Linked DNA regions of Homo sapiens: all the other regions are linked to region 3. Evidence: promoter capture Hi-C in human tissues and cell types (Jung and others, 2019). All regions are on one chromosome and are shown on one strand. Each heading gives the region's core, a stretch centred on a gene start or on the middle of the fragment in contact. The rest is flanking DNA. Distances are from core to core; before and after follow the strand shown.

The links. The method cuts DNA at HindIII sites, captures the fragments that hold promoters and counts their contacts. A contact is called where the count stands out against the background at its distance.
Region 1: the fragment with the promoter of CNBD2 here is called in contact with the fragment with the promoter of ERGIC3 in region 3 in 1 of the 25 tissues and cell types used here (mesendoderm cells).
Region 2: a contact is called between a fragment that was not itself captured here and the fragment with the promoter of ERGIC3 in region 3, in 1 of the 25 tissues and cell types used here (spleen).
Region 4: a fragment that was not itself captured here is called in contact with the fragment with the promoter of ERGIC3 in region 3 in 3 of the 25 tissues and cell types used here (liver, lymphoblastoid cells and mesenchymal stem cells).
Region 5: a fragment that was not itself captured here is called in contact with the fragment with the promoter of ERGIC3 in region 3 in 8 of the 25 tissues and cell types used here (aorta, dorsolateral prefrontal cortex, hippocampus and 5 more).
Region 6: a contact is called between a fragment that was not itself captured here and the fragment with the promoter of ERGIC3 in region 3, in 4 of the 25 tissues and cell types used here (adrenal gland, hippocampus, lymphoblastoid cells and 1 more).
Region 7: a contact is called between a fragment that was not itself captured here and the fragment with the promoter of ERGIC3 in region 3, in 3 of the 25 tissues and cell types used here (dorsolateral prefrontal cortex, hippocampus and lymphoblastoid cells).

The regions. Positions count from the first base shown.
Region 1 is chr20:35,966,140-35,970,305 of GRCh38, reverse strand. CNBD2 (cyclic nucleotide binding domain containing 2) reads right to left here and starts at 1,716. Exons shown (of 12, transcript NM_001365709.1): 1 at 1,493-1,716. The coding sequence starts at 1,543. It also overlaps the pseudogene LOC124904982. The HindIII fragment of the contact is 12,223 bases long and covers 1-4,166 here.
Region 2 is chr20:35,921,142-35,924,781 of GRCh38, reverse strand. All of the region lies in intron 13 of PHF20 (PHD finger protein 20), which reads right to left. Among named protein-coding and RNA genes, the nearest start is that of SCAND1, 32 kb to the left of the region's middle. The HindIII fragment of the contact is 7,739 bases long and covers 1-3,640 here.
Region 3 is chr20:35,539,580-35,543,477 of GRCh38, reverse strand. ERGIC3 (ERGIC and golgi 3) reads right to left here and starts at 1,400. Exons shown (of 13, transcript NM_015966.3): 1 at 1,293-1,400; 2 at 1,085-1,155; 3 at 878-965; 4 at 537-656. The coding sequence starts at 1,380. RefSeq lists an enhancer at 1,639-1,728. The HindIII fragment of the contact is 35,337 bases long and covers 1-3,898 here.
Region 4 is chr20:35,891,365-35,895,503 of GRCh38, reverse strand. All of the region lies in intron 9 of PHF20 (PHD finger protein 20), which reads right to left. Among named protein-coding and RNA genes, the nearest start is that of SCAND1, 61 kb to the left of the region's middle. The HindIII fragment of the contact is 6,428 bases long and covers 1-4,139 here.
Region 5 is chr20:35,942,045-35,945,946 of GRCh38, reverse strand. All of the region lies in intron 17 of PHF20 (PHD finger protein 20), which reads right to left. Among named protein-coding and RNA genes, the nearest start is that of SCAND1, 11 kb to the left of the region's middle. The HindIII fragment of the contact is 3,743 bases long and covers 115-3,857 here.
Region 6 is chr20:35,844,893-35,848,443 of GRCh38, reverse strand. PHF20 (PHD finger protein 20) reads right to left here. Exons shown (of 18, transcript NM_016436.5): 4 at 1,010-1,094. Among named protein-coding and RNA genes, the nearest start is that of PHF20, 75 kb to the right of the region's middle. The HindIII fragment of the contact is 7,233 bases long and covers 1-3,551 here.
Region 7 is chr20:35,873,321-35,877,426 of GRCh38, reverse strand. The region is part of intron 9 of PHF20 (PHD finger protein 20); the gene reads right to left. Among named protein-coding and RNA genes, the nearest start is that of SCAND1, 79 kb to the left of the region's middle. RefSeq lists an enhancer at 1,439-1,998. The HindIII fragment of the contact is 5,621 bases long and covers 1-4,106 here.

The sequences.
Region 1 (4,166 bases), core at 467-2,966, 430 kb before region 3:
CATATAATCAACAAAGGATTACGATCCAAAATTTATTTTTTGTAATCCTACAAATCAAAAGAAAAATACAAATAACCCAATAGCAAAATGAGCAAAGGTAATTCAAAGGGAAAGTTCAAATTACCTATAAATTGTGAAAATATTGTTTTTATTCATTTGTATTTATATTTACATTGTTTGTAAAGAGGGGGTTTCACTTTGTTGCCCAGGCTGGTTTCCAACTCTGGCTTCAAGTGATCCTTCCACCTCAGCCTCCCAAAGTGCTGGGATTACAGGCATGAGCCTTCATGCCCCAGCCAAATTGTGAAACCATTTTTAACATTGCTAGAAATAATGGAAATGGAAATTAAAGTAATAACATGATACTATTTTGCACTTATCACTGGGAACTGGGAAACATGGTACAACCATGTTGAAGAGCAATTTGGCAACATTATATAAAGTTGAGGATGTGTGTACTTCACAATGGAAGAATTGTATGTACTTTATATGTCCTCTTCAGAGAAACATACATGTACAAGGGGATAGCCATGAGGGTAATCATGGCAACATTGTGTGTAACAGTGAATGGCTGAAAACAAATGTTCATTAGTAGGGATCGAAGGGATCAATACATTATGGTTCAGTCACAGGATTGAACACAGCACTAAGTCTGTGTGTGTCAATGTGGATAAAGCTGAAATGATTTTGAGTGGGAAAAAAGAACTATGATGCTATTTATGGTATCATTTTTAAACAGTGTGCCACATACTATATATTGTTTATGGATACATACACATGTGATAATATATAAAAATATAAACAGGAAGGGTGACACCAACTTCAGGAAAGTGGTTACTATTAAAGAGAAATAAAGGGGCATGGGATGGTAAAGAGCTTTCCCTACACCTGTAATGTTCTATTTCTTAAAAATTAGATATCTATGGAAATATGGGGAAAGGTACTTTATGAATAAAATTAATACTTACTGAGTACAATTTACTATTGTCAGGCATTATCCAAAGCACTATTCTGATATGTAAATCATTTAATCAGTAAATTTATGCAGTAGGTACTAGTATTATCATCTCACTTTACAGAGGAGAAAATAAAGGCACAGCAAACCAAGCAACTTGCCTGGGGTCACATGACTAATAGGTGATAGGGATTTAAACCTAGGTAGTCTGGCTCCAGAGTTCACAAGCTTAACCTATGACTCAATGTTGCTACCCTGACTCTATCCTCCCTCGTTCTCTCTGGATCTCATAATAGCAGGAAGAGTGGGTACAGAACAGGACTCAGTGGCTCTGAGTGTGGCTTATGGCTTGCCCAGTGTGGGGGGCTGGTAGGCTACAGGGCAGGGGTCCCTCCTTTGTGCCATGCTGTGACTCCAAAAGGTACAGGATGGCCACCATTCATCCAAGACCCCTCCTACACCTGCATCGACCTTCCTCAAAACACCTGTCTGTTCAGTCTTCTGCTCTTCCCTCCCAGGGCCCTTGCCCCTCCTCACCAGTTCCTTCTTCAGGAGCTGCCAGGCATAAGTTACCATATGTCTCCTCATGGTTCCTGTGCAGGCAAATGGCACAACTAGCCCCTTTGCCTTTCAAGGGGAGGACTACAAATTTTTCCCCAAAAATCCAGTAATACTAGAAACAAATAGATTTCCTCAGTAACAAGGCAAGAGCTCCACTCCACTCCTCCTACCATACCATCAGCTACTGGAAGCCCTGCTCTGAGAAAAATCATTCTCAGAATCTCCTAAGGTCACAATGAAAGATTCTGGAGGCAGGGGACACAGGGATTGGAATGTGGGAGTCTAACATTTATGGGATACTCACAGGCATTATCTCAGCTAATCCTCACAACCACCCAAACTTTTACTCAACTCCATACATAGGAGACTGGGGCTCAAAGTAGCTAAATGGCTGCCAGAGTCCTGGTGAGACAGGAGAATGGCACAACCCTGCTGACCAAAACAGGATCTAGGACCCCCTAGCTGTCCCCATCCCTCATTAACATAAGACACTCCTACCAGTGCCATGACAGTGTACAAATGTCTTGGCAATGACCAGGAAGTTGCTACCTCTTTCCTAGAAAACTCTAAAAACCCACTCCTTAATTTGCATTAACCTGCCCCTTAATTTGCATTAGCCTGCCCCTTAATTTGCATGTGATTGAAAGTGGGTAGGAATGCGTATACTACACTTGATCTCAGCCAAAAGGCTGAGAAGGGATTAGAGATGAGCATAAATACAGTTGCCAACATCTCATACACTGGGTATCGACTCCGGATTCATTGCCCATGAGTTAGCCCTGCCCCACAAGGAGAAGCACTATTCAATAAAAGATTGCTGTCTAACACCACTGGCTCACCCTTGAATTCCTTCCTTGGGCAAAGCCAAGAACTCTCCTAAGCTAAGTCTCAATTTGGGGGCTCACCTGTCCTGCAAAGATAGGGCTTTTTTGTTTTTTGAGACACTGTCTCACTTTGTTCCCAGGATGGAGTGCAGTGGCCCAATCTCAGCTCACTGCAACCTCTGCCTCCCAAATTCAAGTGATTCTCCTGCCTCAGCCGCCCAAGTAGCTAGGATTACAGGCGTGTGCCACCATGCCCGGCTGATTTTTGTATTTTTAGTAAAGACAGGCTTTCACCACGTTGCCCAGGCTGGTCTCAAGCTCCTGACCTCAAGTGATCCACCCACCTCAGCCTCCCAAAGTGCCGGGATTACAGGCATAAACCACCACTCCTGGCCAGGGCCTTTTTTTTTTTTTTTTTTTTAAGAAAGCAGTGTAGCTAAATGTCAGGTACACTTGCTCTCCATTTGTAGCATCCAATTAACAGAAGCAAGGTCTGGTCCAGCCTGGCCAATGTGGTGAAACCCCATCCCTACTAAAAATACAAAAAAATTAGCCGGGTGAGGTGGTGGGCACCTATAATCCCAGCTACTCGGGAGGCTGAGGTGGGAGGATCACTTGAACCCGGGAGGCAGAGGTTGCAGTCAGCCAAGATTGTGCCACTGCACTCCAGCCTGAACGACAGAGCAAGACTCTGTCTCAAAAAAAAAAAAAAAAAAAAAAAAAAAAGCGGGAGGGGGAATTGGCATAAATGGCATGCAGAGGAGGGAATGAGCAGGTGGGAGTCTCCATGACTCACTTTGGTGCCTTATCTACCGCCTGGTCGAGCTGCCACCATCTTGGGCAGAACTAGGTTGTAAAGTGGCCTTGTCTCGAGATACTCTCCAGGTGGGGCAGAGTTTCCTGGCAGGCATACTTTTGGTTGTAAATTGACTATTGTCTCTCAAGGCAATCTGGTGGGAGAGGTTTCTACTCTGGAGCTTTTAAGTAAGCACACAGATACACTTGCTCTAGGAGTGTCTGGTGAAGGGAAAGCAAAAGGTTATAACTGCATTTCTAATCAGCTAAGTAGGAAGTGGGGAACAGAAGAAAAACACAAAAGAGAAAGAAGAAAAAGATGATTTAAAAAGATAACTCATTCTCTATCTCATAGAAAAATGGGTGTACTTTGTTACAGCGGGAGGCTTCTAGGCTGGGAGTAGGTTCATCCAGCACCTTAGCCCAGGGACCACTCTGAGACTTAGAACTTGGAGGCCCTGGAACGTGGGTGCATAGTACTGTCCCATAAGTCTGGTTAAATCAGGACAATAAAAAAAAAACTCAGCAAAACAGAAGACCTCACCCAAATCAAGTGTCAAATATTGAATGGAACTTGGTGACTAGAACTCAAATCTCTGGAGTCCTTCTAAAGATATAGAAAAATATAGGCTCTAAAGTGCTTTTTTCTATTAAAGATGACAATTGAGTATCTCAATTTGCTCTTGCACCAGGATCCTCAGTAGAAAACTGTGATTTCAAGCATCACCTGCTCTGCCATTCCTATCCCGTGGGGTATATCTGTTAACTCTCCTCCAACTGATAGGTAGACAGAAGGACACTGAGTTCAGCAAAGATGGCTGGACAGCTGAGAAGAAAGACAAAGGCCACTCTTGGGGTGGGACAGTAATCACACACAGAGGTGAGAAGGGACAAAACTGGTTTTTCCCCCATACCATGAGAAAAGATGTAAAGAATTCAGAGAGAGAAAGAAGAGAAAGTTTTAGAAAGAGAGACAGAGAGATGAGGTATGGAGTTTTTGCCTCCCCCACTGCAAACCTAGTCTTAAGGAA
Region 2 (3,640 bases), core at 1,043-3,542, 380 kb before region 3:
TCTCTACTAACAATACAAAAAATTAGCCAGGTGTGGTGGTACACACCTGTAGTCCCAGCTACTCAGGAGGCTGAGGCAGGAGGATCACTTGAACCCAGGAGAGGAAGGTTGCAGTGAACCAAGATCATGCCACTGCACTCCAGCCTGGGTGACAGAGCGAATCTCCGTCAAAAAAATAAAATAAAATAAAGTAAAATAAAATGTGATCCAACCATTATGCAGAAAATAAAATGGTTTTTAATTTACATATTGCTAAATGAAAAAAGATGTTAAAAATACTATACATGCGGCCAGGCACAGTGGTTTATGCCTGTAATTCCAGAACTTTGGGAGGCCGAGGTGGGCGGATCACCTGAGGTCGGGAATTCAAGACCAGCCTGACCAACATGGAGAAACCCTGCCTCTACTAAAAATACAAAATTAGCCAAGCGTGGTGGTGCATGCCTGTAATCCCAGCTACTCGGGAGGCTGAGGCAGGAGAATCACTTGAACCTGGGAGGTGGAGGTTGTAGTGAGCCGAGATCACACCATTGCACTACCCCAGCCTGGGCGACAAGAGCAAAACTCCATCGCAAAAAAAAAAAAAAAAGAAAAGAAAAGAAAAGAAAATACTATACATAAAATGCAAACATTTGCATTTAGACAAAGAGATGGTTGCAAAGCAATGTGAATGTACTTAACATCACTGACTTGCATACTTAAAAATGGTTATAATGGTAACTTTTAGGCAGGGCAGGGTGGCTCACACCTGTAATCCTAGCACTTTGGGAGGCTGAGGAGGAAGGGTCATTTGAGGCCAGGAGTTTGAGACCAGCCTGAAAAACATAGCAAGATTCCATCTCTACAAAAAAAAATTAAAGAAATTAGCAAGGTGTGATGTTGTGTGCATGTAGTCTCAGCTACTTAGAAGGCTGAGGTGGAACAATCACTTGAGCCCAGGAGCTGGAGGCTGCCATGAGCTGTGATTGTGCCTCTGTACTCCATCCTGGGTGACAAAGCAAGATCCTGTCTCAAAATAGGAAAATATAAAAATAAAAAGGGTAACTTTTAATGTTATGTGTATTTTACCAAAAAATTTTTAAAAGGAAACAATACATTTGCTATTGTTTGTTTAGCCATAGAATGTTTCTGGAAGGATATACAAGAAACTGATAAGGGCTGACTCTACGGAATGGGTAGTTGGGGATAAGGTGGGGATAAGGTATTTCTCTGTGTGCTTTCTGGACTTTGAATTATGTCAGTGCATTAGGTACCAACAAATAATATGAATTTTAAAATAACCAAAACTTTCAAATGGGCTTCTTTGTTTAAATTTTTATTTACTTAATTTTTATTTAATTTCTTGTAGAAACGGGGTCTCTCTATGTTGCCCAAGCTGGTTTTGAACTCCTGGACTCAAGTGATCCTTCCGCTTCAGCCTTCCAAAGTGCTAGGATTACGGGTGTGAGCCACAGTGCTAGGCCATTAAAATGGGCTTCTTTTTAAAACTGCTATAAAATCTTTACTGGAGTTGGACACTTAATACATATTAATACTTGTTGTTGTAGGGCAAAGGTCAGCAAACTACAGCCCATGTGCCAATGCCAGCTTGACTTGTTTTGTAAATAAAGTATTATGTGAACACAGCCATACGCATTTGTTTAGGGGTTTTTGTTTGTTTGTTTTTTGAGACAGGGTCTCACTCTATTGAACAGGTTGTAGTGCAGTGGTACAATCTCATCTCCCTGCAGCCTTGACTGCCCAGGCTTAAGTGATCCACCCACCTCAGCCTCCTGAGAAGCTGGGACTACAAGTGTGCACCATCACAATTAACTAATTTTTGTATTTTTTGTAGAGACAGGGTTTGCCACGTTGCCCAGGCTGGTCTTGAACTCCTGGCCTAAAGTGATCTGCCCACCTCAGCCTCCCAAAGTGCTAGTATTACAGATGTGAGCCACTGCAGCCAACCATACAGGTGAAAATTTGTTTTACATATTGCCTACAGCTGCTCAAAGAAGAATCCAGTAGGTGCAACAAGGCCATATGGCCCTCAAAACCTAAAAATTTATTATCTAGCCATTTAAGAAAAAGCTTAACAAAACATGCTCTACAGCGATTAAAATAATTTAAATATCAAATGTATTTCCTGTTCATTTTTATGTGGTAGCCAGATTTCTCAAATACCGTATTTATTAAGTAGGATTTTAACCTTCCAGTGATTTAAATTAGCACTGGTAAATAAGATAAAATAGTGATATACATGAACAATGTTGATACTACTCATATAATGACAATGATCCAAAAAGTTATTTCTCTATAGTAATACATGCACTTCTAGAAAACACACTCTAAATGTATTCTAGGGTTATTCAAAATATCAATTTAAGGTAAAGATTTAAGAAAAATTTATTCCTGTCTTCCTAATTAGATGGTGAATACATTTTAAAAGTTTAAACTGTATTTGTTCTAGCTAGCTCCCTCTAAACTTATGCCTTTTGATAAAGTTATTGAGTAGAAAAGGTACGTTGCTCACAGTGACAGGACAGTCAGAAACCGTCCCTCCTTAACACAAAGCCAGGTGGGCACTCTTGGTTCAGGTGGACAGCACAGAAAAGTCCTCTGGAACAAAAGCCAAGAAGCTCTGAAGTGAGCTTGAGACACAAGGTCTTGTGGAGCCTGGGAAGCAGGAGATCAAGTTGGCTCCTGACTCTGCCATGCTCATGGTGGCCCCAATTGCCCCGAAATTAGTTTCTTCATATAGCACATAATGGCATATTAACCTCTACCCTCAAACACACCAAGATCCTTGCTACTTATAGAAAAGTCAATAGAGAAAGTACCAGAGTGGATCAGAAATGGGTTACATACTGTTAGACAGAATAGCCCTGCCAGGAGGGACATTCATTACTCACCCACTGAAGATTTTAACAGGCAGATAAAGGGCAAATCTGTCAGACTAACAAGGCCTGGAACTGAGCATATGCTCAAGGATGACAGAGTAGAAACTAAAGATCTTCAACATCCTTTTAAAAACAAACTTAAAAAAAATCTACTAAAAAATGATAGTCTTCATGTTATATAACATTTTTTTTCTTTTCTTTTTTTTGGGGGGGAGGGTGGGGACAGGGTCTCATTCTGTCACCCAGGCTGGAGTGCAACAGAATAACCAGGGCTCGCTGCAGCCTTGAACTCCCAGGCTCAAGTGATCATCCTACTTCAGTCTCTGGAGTAGTTGGGTCTGCTGGCATGCATCACCATGCCCAGCTAATTTTTTAATTTTTTTGTAGAGGTAGGATCTTGCTATGTTTCCAGGGCTGGTCTCGAACTCCTGGGCTCAAGCAATCCTCCCGCCTCTGCCTCCCAAAATTCTGGGATTACAGCATGCCCAACCAACAATTATCTAATAGTAGTCCACAGGGCTTCAGAGAGTCTGCAAAATGTGTGTGTTTTTAAGGTAGGACAATTAAAAAAAAAAAGATGCACACTCAAACATGTTCCAAGCCATATGTTAAGACAATGAAGCCCGCCACCACACATAATTTTGTATTGCTAGGATAGCTCAGTATTATGTTGACCTCAAAACGGAGCTTGTCCTCCCATCTCTGATTAATCAAAGTAACTACACAGCATGCTGTTCAGGAAAAGTCACCCTGACAATGGC
Region 3 (3,898 bases), core at 151-2,650:
ATGACTTCATTTGATCTTACAATTCCATGTGGTTGGTACTACTGTTTTATTACCACTTTCTAGCTGAAGCTCACAGACTGCAGGAGACAAAGCTAGATGTGAACCCAGGCAATCTGACTTGAGAACCTAAATTCTCATTAAACCACCTGCATTCCAAAGGGGAAGAGCATTAAGGGCTGAATTAAGCCAATGGGCTGGGAAAGCAAACACTCAAAGAAGCCTGGGTCCATCTAGACAGTTCTACCAAGGCAAGAGCACATAAGACCTATCTTCAAACCTCTGGTATTCAAACTACCATCTGCAGGTATTGAGGACCTCTGAGAATAATAGCCAGGTAGATTACCTGACTCGATATGTATAGAGGATTTTAGCTCACTCTGACTCTTACTAGCTGGGGGACCCTAGGCAAGTCACTTGACTTCTCTAGCTCTTAGTTGTTTAATGTATCACTATGCCTGCCACAGTTCACTTGCTAGCAGATAGGCTTGGGTACATCCAGCTTTGGGATCTGAGACCCGGCCCCCTCCCCTGGTTACCATGCCGCTCAGCCTCTGAGCTCACGGGGATGCCATCTTTATCTAGTCGTTGCTTGAACAGGTTGTGTTCCACATCCAGCTGCTGTTCTCCGGCCACATCCATGGCATCAATACTCAGATCTGGAAGCAGGAAAATCAGGCTAAGGTACTGGGACCCTAGGGACAAGGGGATGTGGGTTTTGGAGGGGAAGGGGATACTGGGCCTGTCTTGGGGCAGAACGGGATGAGGAGAAGGAGGTTGTCCTGGGGTCCAGTCCAGAACCTAAGGGTGGAGGTGTGAATCTGGCAGCCCACATGAGAACCCTGGGTCTCTCCAGTCCCACCCATGGTGAGGTACTCACAGGCACAAGGCATGTGCGGAAAAAGTACATCGATGTTGATCTTCAGTTTATCTCCCCGCGACTTGTCCACGTAGAGCTCAGGATGCACCTGGGGCAGCGCTACCTCAGTAAGACTTAGCCCCAAACCTCTCCTTCCCCACTCCCACCCCTAAAGGTCCTACTCCTAGAATGCCAAGCCCCGCCCACGCACTAAGCCCCGCCCCTTACCTCCGTGGTGAGGTAATACTGCAGCTCGGACAGGAACAGTAGCAGCATGAGAAGGCCACTGACAATGGTCACTGCAGGACAAGGGGCGAGGGTCAGAATGGCCTCGAATCCGCTCCCTCAGACACCGGCAGGCCAGTCAGAGTCCAGGAGCCCGGGCTAAGCTCTAGGACGCCCCCCTCCACGCGACCCCGGCCCCGCTGCGGCCTACCGGTGGCGCCCCCGCAGGTCTTGACCCGGAAGTCCTCCAAAGTCTTGGGGTAGGCATCGAACTGCTTCAGCTTCCCCAGCGCCTCCATGGGGACCGGCCGGAAAGGGGACGCCAGCCGGCCCGCCCCTACAGACTCCCTCTTCCGGCCTGGAGCCACGCCCCCCTCTTTTTCCTCACGCAGGCGCAGCAAACCGCACGCTTGGCCCCACCTTTAGCCGCGTTCTCTTACAGGCGGCCCCGCCCAACGATGCTGCCACGCCCCCTTGCGCGGGCAATTGGGTCTGGAAGCTACTGCCCCGGCCTCCGCTGTCCGGGGCGGGATTTTGAGGACTGGGGTGCGAGGAGTTCTCTGCGGGGTTAGAAACGCTAATAGCACCGTTCGTGTGCCTTGTGCTCGGAACTGCACCAGGTGTTTAAGACTCTTGGAACATCTTGGAATATCCTGGAACAGTGGTTTTTCGAGTGTACCGGACCGGCCGCATCATTATCAACTGATTACCTATTAGAAATGCAAATAATTGATTCCCACCTACTGAAGCCGAAACGCTAGGAATGGCATCGGATGATTCTGATGTAAAGTAAGGGTGTCCGCCCTGAAAGCAGGTGTGACTTATCTCCGTTTTCCAAAGAGCAAACTGTGACCTGGAGAAGTTAAATAACTTGCCCAAGATCACAGCCAATTAATAGCAGGACCTGCTTCCAGCCCAGTTCTTCTGGACCTCAAAGTACTCTGGGAATCAGGGTCTTTTGGGTTGATTTTACCTAAACAGCGTCCCAGTGCTTCTCCTGAGCGCTGCTTTCTGAATATTACCCTAAATTGCTCTCCAGGCCCTGGGATCCTCACGGACACGCTCTATCCCTCCAGGTTTAGACTCAAGTGATATGGAGCTTAAGCTCTCCCTGACACTTCCCATTGCAGCCCAGTGTCTCTAGAGGGACAGCTCCCACAGTAATGCAGCTGCAATGAGTAAGATATAAAAGCTCATAGGCTTTCATACAGGAATTCCACTTTAGGAAGTAAAAGCACCATGTCAAGGTTAATAGAAAAATTTTGAAAAAGAAAAAATATGTAAGCAGCTATCCAAGGTTAACAGAAAAAAATTTTAATATAAGGATAAAAGTACCATGATCTGGGTGGTTGTTACACCTTAAGATATTGAATCTGTCTCTTAAAGATTTTAAGTGCACCACATCATAAAGATGTATGCATGAGATTGTTCAATGGCAAAAATCTGGAACCAGCCAGAATGCCCACTGATACATTAAATAAATTGAATAAATCACGATACACCCATTCTATGGAATATTAGGCCACTTTTCAAAAGAATGAGGTAGATTTACTCCTTTAGGTATACTAAGAATGTATTTTTAAGGGGGAAAAGATGCAAAGTAATGTGCATTCCATCATTCCATTTTTTAATTAAAAATTGGGCTGGGCACAATGGCTCACACCTGTAATCACAGCACTTTGGGAGACCGAGGAGGATCACATGAGGCCAGGAGTCTAAGACCAGCCTGGGCAACACAGCAAGACCCCACTCTACAAAAACTTTAAAAACTACATCTGTAACCCTAGCACTTCAGGAGGCCGAGCCAGGAAGCATCACTTGAGTTCAGGAGTTTGAGACCAGCCTGGTCAACATGGTGAAACCCCATCTCTACTAAAAATACAAAAATTAGCCAGGCGTGGTAGTGTGCTCCTGTAAACCCAGCTACTTGTGAGTCCGAGGCAGGAGAATCGCTTGAACCTGGGAGGCGGAGGTTGCAGTGAGCCGAGATCATGCCATTGCATTCCAGCCTGGGCGACAGAGTGAGATTCTGTCTCCAAAAATAAAAATAAAAATAAAAAAATTAGCCAGGTGTGGTGGCATGCGTCTATAGTCTCAGCTACCTGGGAGGCTGGGGTTGAGCCCAGGAGAGTTTGAAACTGCAGTTGTTACCAGGTTACCTGCAGTTGTTACCAGCATAGAGTTGTCCAGGTTCTTGGCGTGTTGAACAAAACACATAAAGTAACAGAAGGGCAACGAAAGACAAACAGCAACAGAAGAACGGAATAACAAAAGCATAGATTTATTGAAGACGATTCATAGCGGCAGCTGGTTAGAGCAAGCTGCTCAAGAGCCTCCTCAATCAGGGTTTGTATTAAGCTAAAGGGACCTGGCAACACCCCTAGGTGCCCTTTAGAAGCCTCCAGTTGGCTACACCTATGAAGGATTGGCCTGCGACCAAATCAGAGGCTGAAGTGGAGACTTGGCCCACAGCCAATCAGAGGCTGAAGTGGAGATTTGGCCCCACGGTCAATCGGAGGCGGAAGTGGAAACTTCTGTCTCGTTATCATAGGATTGAAGATGTGGCCTGTATGCTGCCTAGAACTGGCTGCACCCCTTCATTTGCTTATGTCTTAACCCCCGGTTACCCTGATTCCCTGTTCTCCTGCCTCATAGTGAGCTGTGATTACACCACTGCACTACAGCCTGGGCGACAGAGCGAGTCTCTCTCTCTCTCTTTGTGTGTGTGCATATATATATATATAATATATATAAACTGTTATATATATTATATATATAAACTTATATATATTATATATATAAACTGTTATATATTTT
Region 4 (4,139 bases), core at 373-2,872, 350 kb before region 3:
ATCATATAAACTTGCCATTTTGTAGGCTAAAAAAGACTAAGGCTGGAACCCTGTGCAGTGGCTCACGACTATAATTCCAGCACTTTGGGAAACTGAGGCGGGCAGATCACTTGCAGTCAGGAGTTCAAGACCAGCCTGGCCAACATGGCGAAACCCCATCTCTACTAAAATACAAAAATTAGCGGGGCACGGTGGCTCACACCTGTAATCCCAGCACTTTGAGAGGCTGAGGTGGGCAGATCACTTGAGGTCAAGAGTTTGAGACCAGCCTGGCCAACATGGTAAAACCTTGTCTCAAATAAAATTATAAAAATTAGCCAGGCATGGTGGCACATGCCTGTAGTCCCAGCTACTTGGGAAGCTGAGGTGGAAGAATTGCTTGAACCCAGGAGGCAGAGGTTGCAGTGGGTCAAGATCACGCCACTGTACCCCAGCCTGGGCGACAGAGCGAGACTTTGTCTCAAAAAAAAAAGAAGAAGAAAAATTAGCTGGGCATGGTGCGCGCCTGTAGATCCAGCTTACTCAGGAGGCCGAGGCAGGAGAATCACTTGAACCAGGAGGTCGAGATCGCAGTGAGCCGAGATTGTGCCATTGCACTCTAGCCTGGGTGACAAGAGTGAGACTCCGTCTCAAAAACAAAAACAAAAACTTGCACTCTTGTGTATACACAATGGTCATCTACATAAATCAAACAGTACAGGGGCTAAGTGTGGGTTCTGCAGCTGGACAGCCTATTTCAAAACCGAGTTCTTCCACCTACACCCCTTGCCTCAGTTTCCTCATGTGCAGGATGGAGACGATAATGGTAACAACTTCGCTGAGTTGTGAGAATTAAATAAATTACATGCAAAGAGCTTAGAAAGGTGTACGGCACATAAGTGCTCAATATTATCTACTATGACTATTCAATGTCATTTTAAATTTCAGGAATTAACCTGATCATAAGCAGAAGAGGGGAAGTGTCCACCACCCACAGCCTCACTGCATGCTCATGCCAGAGGCAGTATGGTATAGTACAAAAAGCACAACATTTAATCCCAGGTCTACCTTTCATTAGCAGCATAAATTAGCTGTGCAAGCTAGTCTAATTATCCAGATTCTTAAGGGAAGAATACCACCTATTTCAAAGATTTGGAGAAAAGGTTATGGATAATGTATGTACTTGGCACAAAGTAGGTGATCAACACATGGAAGCCATTATCATTTCAAATATAAAATACATCATAAGCAGGCTTATGTTATTTCTGGAACATGGCTGGAGACAGCTATTATAATTATCAACCAAGTGTGAAACATTTCTTCAACCAGTCTTCATATGCCCTGGCTGGGACGCATATCACCCTGAAAGCACTTCATTTCGTCTACGTCCTCCTGAAAGTGTGAAATTCAAAACCAACCACAAGGTTCCTAGTATGACTATTCACATTTCAGTGTGATTATTATCTCCACCTTTTGGGACATCTTTTACTATGACACCTAAAGATTTTCTTTTGTAATACTCTATACAATGCAGGATAGTACCAAGCTTGTTCCACCAAAATACTGAACATTGTTTTATCTTTTTAAAACATAAATAACAGTACATGTTGGCGGGGCACAGTGGCTCATGCCTGTAATCCCAGCATTTTGGGAAGCCAAGGCAGGCAGATCACCTGAGGTCAGGAGTTCAAGACCAGCCTGGCCAACATGGTGAAACCCCATCTCTACTAAAAATACAAAAAATTAGCTGGGCGTGGTGGCAGGTGCCTGTAATCCCAGCTACTCGGGGGGCTGAGGCAGGAGAATCACTTGAACCTGCTAGGTGGAGGTTGAAATGAGCTGCGATCACACCATTGCACTGCAGCCTGGGCAACAAGAGCCAAACTCTGTCTGAAAACAAAAAAAGAAAAAAGCCATGGCCGGCTGGGAGTGGTGGCTCATGCCTGTAATCCTAGTACTTTAGGAGACCGAGGTGGGTGAATCACTTGAGGTAAGGAGTTCAAGACAAGCCTGGCCAACATGGCAAAACCCCGTCTCTACTAAAAATACAAAAATTAGCTAGCTGTGGTGGCGTGTGCCTGTAATCCCAGCTACCTGGGAGGCTGAGGCAGGTGAATTGCTTGAACCCAGGTGGCGGAGGTTGCAATGAGCCAAGATCACACCATTGACCTGGGTGACAAGAGCGAAACTCCATCTCAAAAAAAAAAAAAAGTCATGGCCAAACTATCTGTTGAAAGATAGATATGACTGGACTAATAATCAGACTAATAATCTGCCAATCTAGTAAACCTTTCAAAGCAAGCGAGTTTAGTTTACAGGTTAAAAATTCCCCCTGCAAAAGCAAAATCCTTGATTCCTCACAGCTAAGCAAAAGTTAGTACAGCTGAAACTCCAAAGGAGCGCCAGCTTGGCACTCAGGTGGACCAGCTGCCTCTGACAGGCAGTACTAGGATCAGAGAGGCTCAAGTGAGCACGGATGCTCCTCAGGAGGGAAGACACTGCCAGGTGCCACTATCACAAAGATCCTGGCCAAACCAAAGGCTCTTTTCAATTTGGCAACACTAAGACAAAGTAGTTTCTGTTTTCTCTGATGGAATAAACATCAAAAGAAGATTTGAGCATTACAAATCTTTAACCATGGAAACTCAGGAAGTAAGATTTCCCAGTGAAATCAGTGAAGTATAACTCACTGTGATACAAGCAAGCTCTTCTGATTATAAGCCAGTTGATAATCTACCCTGCACTGCTGGAAAAAACAATCAACACAAGCATCAGAGTGAGAAAAGCTGCAAACAGGGTATGAATCAGTAATGCATACTAGCCTGTGATAAAATATGATAAATTACACAATTTGCTATAATTTCAGAACCACAAATCAAAAAGTAGATTCTTCCAGAAGTAGAGCTCTAAAGAAAAAAAAGTAGATAAAAATATTATATATGAATAAAATGTTTATGTTAACTTTTTAATGATGAGAAAATGTTTAGGATATGTTAAATTATAATATAACAAAAAAGGCCAGACGTGGTGGCTCATGCCTGTAATCCCAACACTTCGGGAGGCTGAGGCAGGTGGAGCACCTGAGGTCAGGAGTTCGAGACCTGCCTGAGCAGCATGGTGAAACCCCATCTCTACTAAAAATACAAAATTGGCCGGGTGCGGTGGCTCACGCCTGTAATCCTAGCACTTTGGGAGGCCAAGGTGGGCAGATCATTTGAGGTCGGGAGTTCAAGACCAGCCTGACCAACATGGTGAAACCCCGTCTCTACTAAAAATACAAAAAAAAAAAAAAAAAAAAAATCAGCCAGGCGTGGTGGTGCATGCCTGTAGTCCCATCTACTCGGGAGGCTGAAGCAGGAGAATCGCTTGAACCTGGGAGGCAAAGGTTGCAGTGAACCAATATCACGCCACTGTACTTGAAACTGGGCGAAAGAACGAGACTGTCCCCCGCTTAAAAAAAACAAAAAAACAAAAAAAAACAAAAAAAATTAGCTGGGGGTGGTGGCGGATGCCTGTAATCCCAGCTTCTCAGGAGGCTGAGGCAGGTGAATCGCTTGAACCCGGTAGGCGGAGGTTGCAGTGAGCCAAGATTGCCCACTGCACTCCAGCCTGGGCAACACAGTGACAAACTCTGTCTCAAAAAGTACATAAATAAATAAATAATATATAAAAAATAGAATAACAAAAAAGACACATAAACACCAAGACTTAAGCAATCGTCCCTTTCTCGTGAAGGTTTTGCAAATTGGACTATTTTACTTTTGAACCCAAATATTTAGAGACATGAAAAATTATATTTTCTAGACTTCACAACCTTATCCTAATTTTTGCACAGCCAAAAGGAGCCCTCTGTATGCACAATAAAGGCTGCCAGTTCAGCCAGTCTAGGCCATGTGGTTCCCTCTATTTGGCATGTTGTTCCCACATGCAAACCAAGTCTTGCTCATCCTTCAAATACCACCTCCTTGCACAATGCCTTCACCCCGGTCTCTCAGCAGAAAAGATTCTGTCCTGCCTCGAAGAATTCCTGTAAGTATTTTATGGATCCTGTAGTCCTTCCCTTTCTATTTGTATAACAGTTGGTTTTGTTTATTCCTTTTTCTAAAATGTTGAAATACCCAATGTGCTGCCTTTTTTTTTTTTTTTTTGACATAGAGTCT
Region 5 (3,902 bases), core at 737-3,236, 400 kb before region 3:
CCACCTGCCTTGGCCACTTTGAAAGTGCTAGGATTACAGGCATGAACCACCATGCAGGACCCCTTTAAATATTTAATGTAAGATTTCAGGTATTAATTAACATTATCATCATTGGTTCAATATCTAGAAAGCTGTCTTGCTTGTGAGAACAAGTATTTCTCTACAGAAAGATGTTTGTTCTTCCCTAAGCTACCCCCTAAAGCTCTGGCATTTGGGGAGAGACCATCTGGGAACCCTGCACCTTTGACAAGAACCACCCCCTGCAGGTAGCCCCTGTGCTATCCCAGCCTGCCTGTAGCCTTTCTAGTCCATGCACCAACCTGTACTGAGCACCTTCTGGACCCTGGAGTGCAGCAAAAGAAAGGCCCACCCAGTACCTCTTCATCAAGCAGCCTGCAACCTACTGCGCAATCCTCTCCTGTCCTCAGATGCAGCCCTACCTTCCTCTCCACCTTTCTAAATCCTCTGTTTCTTGTGAGCTATTCTTTAGGGAAGCCTTCCCCAACCCTATACCCTGAATCTGGTCCTTGTGTTACAGGTGCTATGATATCACATGTTCTCCTTTGAGCATTTACTATGGTTTGTCATTACAGGTAATGGGATGATTTGTTTAATATATGTCTCTCCCACTAGATCAAGTTCCACGAGGGCAAAGGCTGAGTCTGCCTTGCTTGCCACTATATCCCTAACACTCACCTGTGTCTGAAATGTGGCAAGCCTGCAACAAACACAGCGAGAGAAGGAATGTGTGGTCCAGCAAAGCGCCCTACCCATTGCTCTGGGCCCTATGTAGTTTATCCTCCTCCATCATATTTCTTGTTGGTATTTGGGGGTTCCAAGAAGGAGGAACCCTCTCTCTTCCTAATTCCAGCAAGTACAAGGACTTGGAAATAAGAAAAATAAGACCACCTCCTCAGACTTAAGCTTGAAAACCATTAGTAAAAGATCAGTCATGTGAGAGGAACTAGTGGCCTGCTGAGCAAGAAAACTGGATAGTGACCAGTTTCAAAACACCAGTAAGTCTTTAAAAAAAACTAGAAGGAGACAGGGGACTGTTCAGCAAACAGGCAGAAGAATAAATGGAGAGGCCGGACGTGCACGCCTGTAATCCCAACACCTTGGGAGGTCAAGGGAGGTGGATCACCTGAGGTCAGAAATTCAAGACAAGCCTGGCCAACATGGTGAAACCCCATCTCTATTAAAAATACAAAATCAGCCAGGTGTGGTGGCAGGCATCTGCCTGCTACTTGGGAGGCTGAGGAAGGAAGAGTCGCTTAAACCTGGGAGGCAGAGGCTTCAGTAAGCCGAGATCATGCCACTGTACTCCAGCCTGGGCGAGAAAGAGCAAGACTCCGTCTTAAAAAAATAAAATAAAATAAAAATAAATAAATGGACAAAAGGCAGTCAGGACTGGATGGGTCACTCCAACAGCAAAGAGAGTCAGTCAATCTTTTGCAAGATGATCCTACAGTTGCTGAGAGGCCCCTCTTAAGGTCACCCTAACTACCTTGGATCTAGTTCCAGGCTCACCAAAGACATCCCGATACTACGGTGGCCCAGGAGGCATGCACAGTGTGAAAGCGCACCAACGCTCAGACTGGAAGAGTCTAAGCCACTCAGTAGTGCCTGAGCTTGGTTAACAGGAGTGTGTGGAGTTCCTGAGATGGAAGCTGTCTGTCTAGGTCTGTTAGGCTGAAGAACAAAGCCAGGACTGTGGGAAGTCAACAGCATCTCCTCTGGACCCCAGCATCCAGCAGGCCACCCTCTCCATACCATGTGCTGCACCATCCCAAGTGTCTCTTTTAAAGATGCAGAACAGCTTCCAACTAGCATAGTGGTTGCTAGCAAGACAGAAGGTTACAGAGGAAAAAATTCTGTTCAAATACACTAAGATCATGTGTATAGAGACCACTGCTCACCAAGGCAACATTTTTTATTTAAGAAAATAATCTCTCTAATGCCAAAAGACTTTTTTACTTTTCATGGTCATTAAATATCCTTTGTCTTTTAGTTTTAAAGTACTGTTCAGGCTGGGTGCAGTGGCTCACACCTGTAATCCCAGCACTTTGGGAGCCCGAGGCAGGCAGATCATGAGGTCAGGAGATCGAGACCAGCCTGGCCAACATAGTGAAACCCCGTCTCTATTAAAAATACAAAAATTAGCCAGGCATGGCGGTGTGCACCTATAATCCCAGCTACTCGGGAGGCTGAAGCAGGAGAATTGCTTGAAGCCAGGAGGTGGAGGTTGTGGTGAGCCGAGATCGTGCCACTGCACTCCAGCCTGGGCAACAGACCGAGACTCCGTCTCAAAAATAAATAAATAAATAAATAAATAAAGTACTATTCATATAACTACATAAATAATTAAATAATGGCCAATTGTAAAACAATGGCATATATATATATATATTTCATATAATAGCTTACTAGGCTTTTTTTTTTTTTTTTTTAAAGAAATGGGGTCTTGCTCTGTCACCCAGGCTGGAGTACAGTGACACGATCATAGCTCACTGTAACCTTGAACTCCTTGGCCTCCCAAAGCACTGGGATTACAAGTGTGAGCCACCACGCCAGGTCAGCTTTTAAATTTTTTTAAATTTTTTATTTTCAGACTGAGTCTCACTCTGTTGCCCAGTCTGGAGTGCAGTGATATGATCTCAGCTCACTGCAACCTCCGCCTCCTAGATTCTGCTGCTTCAGCCTCCCAAGTAGCTAGGATTATACGTGTGCACCACCACACCCAGCTAAGCAGGCCGGCTTTTTAAAAAAGGAATGTTACATCCAAATTCCTATTTTAAAACTTGGTTATGAAAGCTTAGTTTAGGGCTGGGTACGGTGGCTCACGTCTATAATCCCAGCACTTTGGGAGGCCAAGGTGGGCGGATCATGAGGTCAGGAGATCGAGACCATCCTGGCTAACACAGTGAAACCCTGTCTCTACTAAAAATATAAAAAATTAGCCGGGCCTGGTGGCGGGCACCTGTAGTCCCAGCTACGCGGGAGGCTGAGGCAGGAGAATGGCGTGAACCCGGGAGGCGGAGCTTGCAGTGAGCTGAGATGGCACCACTGCACTCCAGCCCGGGCAACAGAGCGAGACTCCATCTCAAAAAAAAAAGAAAGAAAGAAAGCTTAGTTTATCTTGGTGTTTAAATAAAGAGTTGATTCCATAAAAAGGGATTTTGATTAATCTTAAATACTATGCAAAAGTCTGTTTACCTAAATAAAATCTTTAAGCTTTATCATTTATTTTAATGCTTTCTTGTTATCTCTCTCAGGGCCTAGAGTCTTAGAAATGTACAGAATATGTGGCTCTGAATTAGCAAGACACACAAGAGGTCATCTGTGAGGCCAAAGAAGGGGGTTCAGGCCTACCATCCTTGCCACACTGCCCATTCGGCAGGGCTAGAGAGGCCAAACCTGGCTGAAGAGAGGATTAAGGAAGTAAGATGTGAGTAGACTTTAACTTCTCCCTCAGGGAAGGTCCCTGTGGCAACAACCGAACATTCACCCTGTTTCCATGGTGCTAATCCTCTTTTCAGGGACTACAGAGCCACTCCTACTGCCATTCTCTCAAGAGCTACACTTTTTTGTCTAACATTATATCCTCCTTCAGCTCTCTAATAATATGTTTTTCACAGACAGTGGCATCAGTTACAATCCCTTTTTTTTAGTTTATTTTTTTAGAGACAGGGTCTGTGTTACACAGGCTGGAGTACCGTGACATAATCACAGCTCACTGCAGCCTCCAACTCCTGGGCTCAAGCAGTCCTCCCGCCTCAGCCTCCCAAGTAGCTGGGACTACACCCCTACACTTGGCTAGTTTTTTATTTTTTTGTAGAGACTGTGATGCCCAGGCTGGCCTCAAGCAATCCTCCCACCTTGACCTCCCAAAGTACTGGGAT
Region 6 (3,551 bases), core at 763-3,262, 300 kb before region 3:
AAAATACAAAATTTAGCTGACCGTGGTGCACGTTGGTAATCCCAGCTACTCGGGAGGCTGAGGCAGGAGAATCGCTTGAACTCAGGAGATGGAGGTTGCAGTGAGCTGAGCTGGCACCACTGCACTCCAGCCTGGGCAACAGAGCAAGACTCTGTCCCAAAAAAGAACAAGAAAAAAAAAATCATTCTCAGACAAAACTTGGTCAGCCTGAGGCCCAGCAGTTAGCAGAGTATTAATAAATATCTGAATAACTTCATCAAATGAAAAGTCAGGCTGGCCTAATAGTCAACCCTACAGTGGCATCAAGAGGCCTGACTTCCCTAAACACTCACTTCAGAGATCATGGAGACCACACACACCCTAGTGGAATGTGCTTACAATGGTATCACTGGGACCCAGACTCTATTCTCCAGGTGCCAGGATCCTGACCGTACATATTATCCTCATAACTCTTTGTCTGCCCTTTTACTAGCAAAATTGAGCCTCTATTAGTCAAGTTCCCCATCCTGTCTCTTCACATGTTCAACTCTGGCAAATGAAACCCAACTCAGTGCTCTAAATTCCGGCATCCCAGTTTCCACTAGCAACTCCAATGTTACAGACCACCCTCAGTCACCTTGCATCTAGAAAGCACATTTTTTAAAGTTTGTTAGTGTTCATTTAATTTCTAAGCTATTCACAAATATTCAGGACTATGTCATCAATTATATTAGGAACTCCTAGACAGCAAGTACCTGCATACTTCCAGGCAGAGTGACAGATGAACTGTGACTGTTTTAGAAAACAATGACTGAAATTCAGGGGGTAAAAAGTCAAACTATCTTTTTTGTCCAGTTTTCTTTACACTTATAATTTCTACCCAACTCCTGACATAGTGATTAACTTGAATAAAGCGGATACCTAGGCAGTAAATAAATACTGAAAATATACTATCAAGCTCTGATATTACAAACATCCCCCCCCACCACCTAAGTCATGAGTAAAAACAACTACAACTCAAATGCCTTACCATCCTTGTTAACAGCAGTGACTTTGGCCGGGTAAAAACGACAATCAGACCAGCAAGCAAGGACCTGCTCATTTATTTGAAATTCCTAAAAAACATAAAAAAAAAAAAAAGATCCTGTTACCAACCTAATTTCACAGGACATACAGGACATACCAGATCTCATAAAAGAAGCTGGGATTGATAAGAAAGTGTGAAGGGAAAGTAGCTGTTGAGATGGAGGAAGATATTTCTGTTGTTCAACACTAGGAGTTGCTATAATTTCGGTGTCATTTGTCCTCACCAAAAGTAAACGTTTTCAGTGCAGCAGTGTTGAAAATGGGGCCTATGAGAGGTGTTTGGGTCATGGTAGCAGATCCCTCATGAATAGATTAATGCTGTCTCACAGGAGTGACTTCTCGCTCTCCTGGGAATGGATTCATTCCCAAGAAAGCAAGTTGTTACAAAGCAAGTCTCCTTCTGTTTGGTCCCTCTCTTCACACTTGTCTCCCTTTTTGACCTTCCACCATGTATGACACAGCATGAAAGCTGATGCCAGAAGCCAGTACCATGCACTTGAACTTCCCAGCCTGCAGAATTGTGAGCTAAACAAACCTCTTTTCTTTATAAATTACCTAGTCTCAGGTATTCTATTATAGCAACACAGAAAAGACTAAGACAGGAGTCAAAACAAAAGGGCTGGGACACAAGACCTCAATAAGCCCAAGAGGTCTGGGCAGGCACAGAACAGCACTGATGATAATTCCACCCTAACCAGCATACATTCTGAAAATGAGTCTAAGAGGCCAGGACTACTAGAATACACATCCAGTATAGGAGTCAGAAGATATGAGGCTACTTCATACTCAGGGAAGCAGCATTTAATGCCATCTACACTTCTAAAGGGTCTTTTGCCAGGGAAAGCAACCATTCACCTTTAATATTTTATACTCTTTTCCCAGCACACAGTTTGCACTGATAAATTTTGTACAATGGGCCAGGTGCAGTGGCTCACACCTGTAATCCCAGCACTCTGGGAGGTCAAGGTGGGCAGATCACCTGAGATCAGCCTGGCCAACATGGTGAAACCCCGTCTCTACTAAAAATACAAAAATTAGCCTGTGTGGTGGCGGCCACCTGTAATCCCAGCTTCTCGATGGCTGAGGCAGGAGAATCACTTGAACCCAGGAGGTGGAGGTTGCAGTGAGCCGAGATTGCGCCATTGCACTCCAGGCTGGGTGATACAGTGAGACTCTGTCTCAAAAAAAAAAAAAAATTTGTAGAATGAACACTGAAAAGTCAAATGGAACAATACTGAATAATCCTTAATTGGGAAAAAGAAAAAAAAGGCCAGCAATAGTTCAAGTTCCCTAATAGGGTTAAAACAGAAAATAAGCCGGACACAGTGGCTCGTGCCTGTAATCCCAGCACTTTGGGAGGCTGGGGAAGGTGGATCACCTGAGGCCAGGAGTCTGGCCAACATGATGAACTCCCACCTCTACTAAAAATACAAACATTAGCCAGGTGTGGTTGGATGCGTCTGTAGTCCAAGCTACTCAGAAAGCTAAGACTCGAGAATCACTTGAACCCGAAAGACAGGTTGCAGTGAGTCAAGATCATGCCACTGCACTCCAGCCTCGGCCATACAGTAAGACTGCCTCAAAAAAAAAAAAAAAAAGAAAGAAAAATAGAAGGCAGGGCTGAGTCTGAGTCAGATCCAAAAGCAGCAGGACCATTATAGATGTCTCAATGCCTGTTTAAAAACCTTAAAACTAGCCAGGCACAAGGGCACACGCCTATAATCCCAGGACTTTGGGAGGTACGAAGGATCTTCCTTCTTTGGCAGAAAGATCCCTTAAGGCCAGGAGTTCAAGACCAGCCTGGGCAACATAATAAGACCTTGTCTCTACAAAAAAAATTTTTTAATTAGTCAGGCACAGTGGTACATGCCTATAGTCCCAGGTACTCAGGAGGCTGAGGAAGGAGGATTGCTTGAGCCCAAGAGGTCAAGGCTACATTAAGCCAAGACTGCACCACTGCACTTCAGACTGGGCGACAGAGCAAGAAAACGTCTCTTTAAAAAAAAACAAAAAAAGATGAGTTAATGGGTGCAGCACACCAACATGGCACACGTATACATATGTAACAAACCTGCACATTGTGCACATGTACCCTAGAACTTAAAGTATAATAAAAAAATTAATAAATAAAATTAAAAAAATAAAACAAACTGTTATTACAGGAACAGAAAAAAAAAACACCATAAATGAAGCTTCAAAAGATATGCTAATTGAAGTAAGTCAGACCCGAAATGTTACATACAGTATGATTTTATTTCAAATGAAAAACCAAACAAAAATAGGACTATAAACAGAAAATAGATAGATCAGTGGCAAGCCAGGGTCCAGAACTGGTCCAGGACTGGCTGGTGAAGACTGAATGAAAAGCAATTTGAGGGAGAGCTTCTTTTTGTCATAATGAAAATATTGTGTATCATATGGCAGTGGCTATCTGACAATATAAATTTGCAAAACTTATTAAACTATACAGTTTAAAATGGGTGATT
Region 7 (4,106 bases), core at 1,516-4,015, 330 kb before region 3:
AGAAAAGAATAGGGTCTGGCATTGGCACTTACTAGGCACTTGCTAAATATTTGCAGCAGCCCATTTTCAGATAATAATATGACCTCCAAACTTTTTTTTTTTTTTTGAGATGGAGTCTCACTCTTTTTTTTTTTTTTTTTTTTTTTTGAGATGGAGTCTCTCAGGCTGGAGAGCAGTGGCACGATCTCGGCAAACTGCAACCTCTTCCTCCCAGGTTCAAGCAATTCTCCTGCCTCAGCCTCCCAAGTATCCAGGATTACAGGCGCCCACCACCATGCCCAGCAAATTTTTGTATCTTTTTTTTTTTTTTTTTTTTTTTTGAGACAGAGTCTCACTCTGTCGCCCAGGCTGGAGTGCAGTGGCATGATCTAGGCTCACTGCAAGCTCCGCCTCCCAGGTTTACGCCATTCTCCTGCCTCAGCCTCCCAAGTAGCTGGGACTACAGGCGCCAGCCACCACGCCCGGCCAATTTTTTTGTATTTTTAGTAGAGACGGGGTTTCACCGTGTTAGACAGGATGGTCTTGATCTCCTGACCTTGTGATCCGCCTGCCTCGGCCTCCCAAAGTGCTGGGATTACAGGCATGAGACACTGCGCCCGGCCAAATTTTTGTATCTTTAGTAGAGATGGGGTTTCACCATGTTGGCCAGGCTGGTCTCTAACTCCTGACGTCAGGTGATCTGCCCGTCTTGGCCTCCCAAAGTGCTAGAATTACAGGCGTGAGCCACCACGCCCAGCCTGAGACCTCTAAACTTCTAGGGGAATTACTAACTTCTGTTTTACTGCATAAATGAATGCTTGCCCAATTACAACAGTCACAACTGCATTCGTCTCTGGCTTTTTAATTTTTTTATTTTTGAGATAGAGTCTCGCTCTGTCACCTAAGCTGGGTGCAGGGGCGCAATCTCGGCTCACTGCAACCTCCACCTCCCAGGTTCAAGCAACTCTCCTGCCTCAGCCTCCCGAGTAGCTAGGATTACAGGCGCCTGCCACCATACCCGGCTAATTTTTGTATTTTTGGTAGAGATGGGGTTTCACCATGTTGGCCAGGCTGGTCTCGAACTCCTGACCTCAAGTGATCTGCCCACCTCGGCCTCCCAAAGTCCTGGGATTACAGGCATGAGCCACCAGGCCCGGCCATCTCTTCTGGCTTTTAAGTCACTAAAGCAAAAAGCAAATACCTCATTCAAAAAAAAAAATACAGTAATGGGTTCCATGCTATATTTATTCCTCTTGGCTCAAGCTCAAAGTAATTTGACCTCCACCCTTACTATTAACCCTCTTGGAAAATAGATAAGTGCTTCAATCAGTTGCAATGGTTTCAAAATTATTCCCTTAGAAAGGCTACTGTGAGACCTTTGTAAGGATGCAGACGACGACATGAAATCTCATCATCATCCTTTTCCCCTAGACTCACCTGTCCCACCCTTACTATACTTGATTCTGTCCTCTCCACAATCCAGAAACATAATTAGGTTAGCTAACACAAGACAGAAATTATGTATGTGTATATTTTGGGAAAAAGTATAGCCCAAGACCCCATAAAATACGTAAACTTTACAAAAGGCACTGGAGTTAGCTTCTAATCTAGTCTCCTCACTTATATGCATGGCGTGTTTCCTAGTGGTGTAGGAACAATTAACTACAAATTTCAAGTGACGTCTAACATACCACTACCCTTAAGACAACATAATTAAAAGCTTAGTCTGCTGAGTCACAGGGGATGTGGCTGTCATCTAGAGTTCTCCCTGCCAAGACAGACAACTAAATTCCGAGATTAAATTTCCACCTCATTTACATATGAACTTTAGTAATTTGCCCCACATGTCAGAAGAGCAGGCTGGGAAGAAAAGAGCCCTGACACTAAGAGGAGGAGTAGCAAAAAAAGGAAGATCCCTTGCCCCGACAAGCCCTCGAGGCTGAAGCACAACACTATGGACGAAGCTAGACAGAGAACTAAGAGAACAGCCGCCGAGATGAGCTAGGAATGAATACTTCGGTACTCTTTTAATTTTTTTTTTTTCTTTTTTGAGATGGAATCTCACTCTGTCACCCAGGCTGGAGTGCAGTGGTGCGATCTCAACTCACTGCAACCTCTGCCTTCTGGGTTTAAGCAATTCTCCTGTCTCAATCTCCAGAGTAGCTGGGACTACAGGCGTGCGCCACCAAGCCCAGCAAATTTTTGTATTTTTAGTAGAGACGGGGTTTCACCATGTTGGCCAGGCTGGTCTCGAATTCCTGACCTCAAATGATCTGCCCGCCTAGGCATCCGAGAGTGCTGGGATTACAGGCGTGAGCCACCACCCCTGGCCAATTTTTTAAAATATTTTAGGAGATAGGGTCTTCCTCTGTCACCCAGGCTGGCAGTGGTACAATCACAGCTCAAGGCAGCCTCGACCTCCCTGGTTCAAGTGATCCTCCCACCTCCGCCTCCCAAGTAGCTGGGACTATAGGCATGAACCATCATGCCAGGCTAATTTTTTTATTTTTTGAAGAGGGAGGGTCTCACTATGTTGATGCAAGGCCTTCAATATAGCGAGTCTTGAACTCCTGGCCTCAAGTGACCCTCCAGTCTCAACCTCCCAGAGTGCTGAGATTCACTATTTTCAAACAGCTGCTCTACTACATTTATGTTAACTATATAGCATCTGGCCAAGAAAAAAAAAAACTATTCAAAAAAAAATTTTTTAAGTTATCCAAATAAAAAGTAGACAATTCTATAGACACACAGTCTTATTTGTTTGTTTTTTAACTAAAAGTTGAGAAAAGAAAAAAAATTAGCTGGACATGGTGGCACACGCCTGTAGTCCCAGCTACTCAAGTGACTGAGACAGGAGGATCACTTGAGCCCAGGAGGTCCAGGCTGCTCTGAGCTGTGATTGTGCCACTGCACTCCAGCCTGGGAAACAGAGTGAGACTCTATCTTTAAAAAAAAAAAGTCAAGTTTTAACAAAAACCAGAAGAATTTGTCATCAGGAACCTATAAGAAAATCTGAAGGAAATTCTTCATGCTGAAAAGAAATCTTCGAAGAAATAAAGAACATTGGAAATAGGCATGTGTAAATATGACTGTCGCTTTTTGCCTTATCGTCTTTAACATACATAATTGTGTAAAGCAAAACTTATAATACTACATTATGAAATTTATAGCAGGCCAGGTGTGGTGGCTCACGCCTATAATCACAGTACTTTGGGAAGTCAAGGCGGGTAGATCACTTGACGTCAGGAGTTCCAGACCAGCTTGACCAACATGGTGAAACCCCATCTCTACTAAAAATACAAAAAAAATTTAGCCAGGCGTGGTGGCACATGCCTGTAATCCCAGCTACTTGGGAGGCTGAGGCAGGAGAATCACTTGAATCTGGGAAGTGGAGGTTGCAGTGAGCCAAGATCGTGCCATTGCACTCCACCTGGGCAACAAGAGTGAAATGCCATCTCAAAAAAATATGTAAATAAAAAATTTTTTAAAAAGGAATTTATAGCATATACAGATATAATTCATGTGACAACTACAACATGGGGGAGGTTAATGGAACATTTTTACATAAAGTGGTTAAATATTAACTCTAAGTGAACTGTGAGAAGTTAAGGATGTATACCATAATCCATAGAGTAACCTCTTTCAAAATGCTAGAAATACAGCTAAAAGCTAACAGATGAATTAAAATGAAATTCTTAAAAAATCAGTTAACCTAAAAAACAAGAAACAAAACAACAAAACACAAATAATATAAACAGACAACCAGCCTGGCCAACATGGTGAAACCCCGTCTCTACTAAAAAATACAAAAATTAGCCGATTGTGGTGGTGGGTGCCTATAATCCCAGCTACTCAGGAGGCTGAAGCAGATGAATCGCTTCAACCCGGGAGGCAGACGTTGCAGTGAGCAGAAATCGCACCACTGCACTCCAGCCTGGGCGATAGAGCAAGACTCTGTCTTAAAAAAAAAAAAAAAAAAAACAAAAAAACAGACAAAACACAGCCAAATGTTAGCCTAAAAACCAACCATATCAACAATTACATTTAGGCCAGAAATAGTGGCTCACACCTGTAATCCTAGCACTTTGGGAGGCCGAGGTGGGCAGATCACCTGTGGTCAGGAGTTC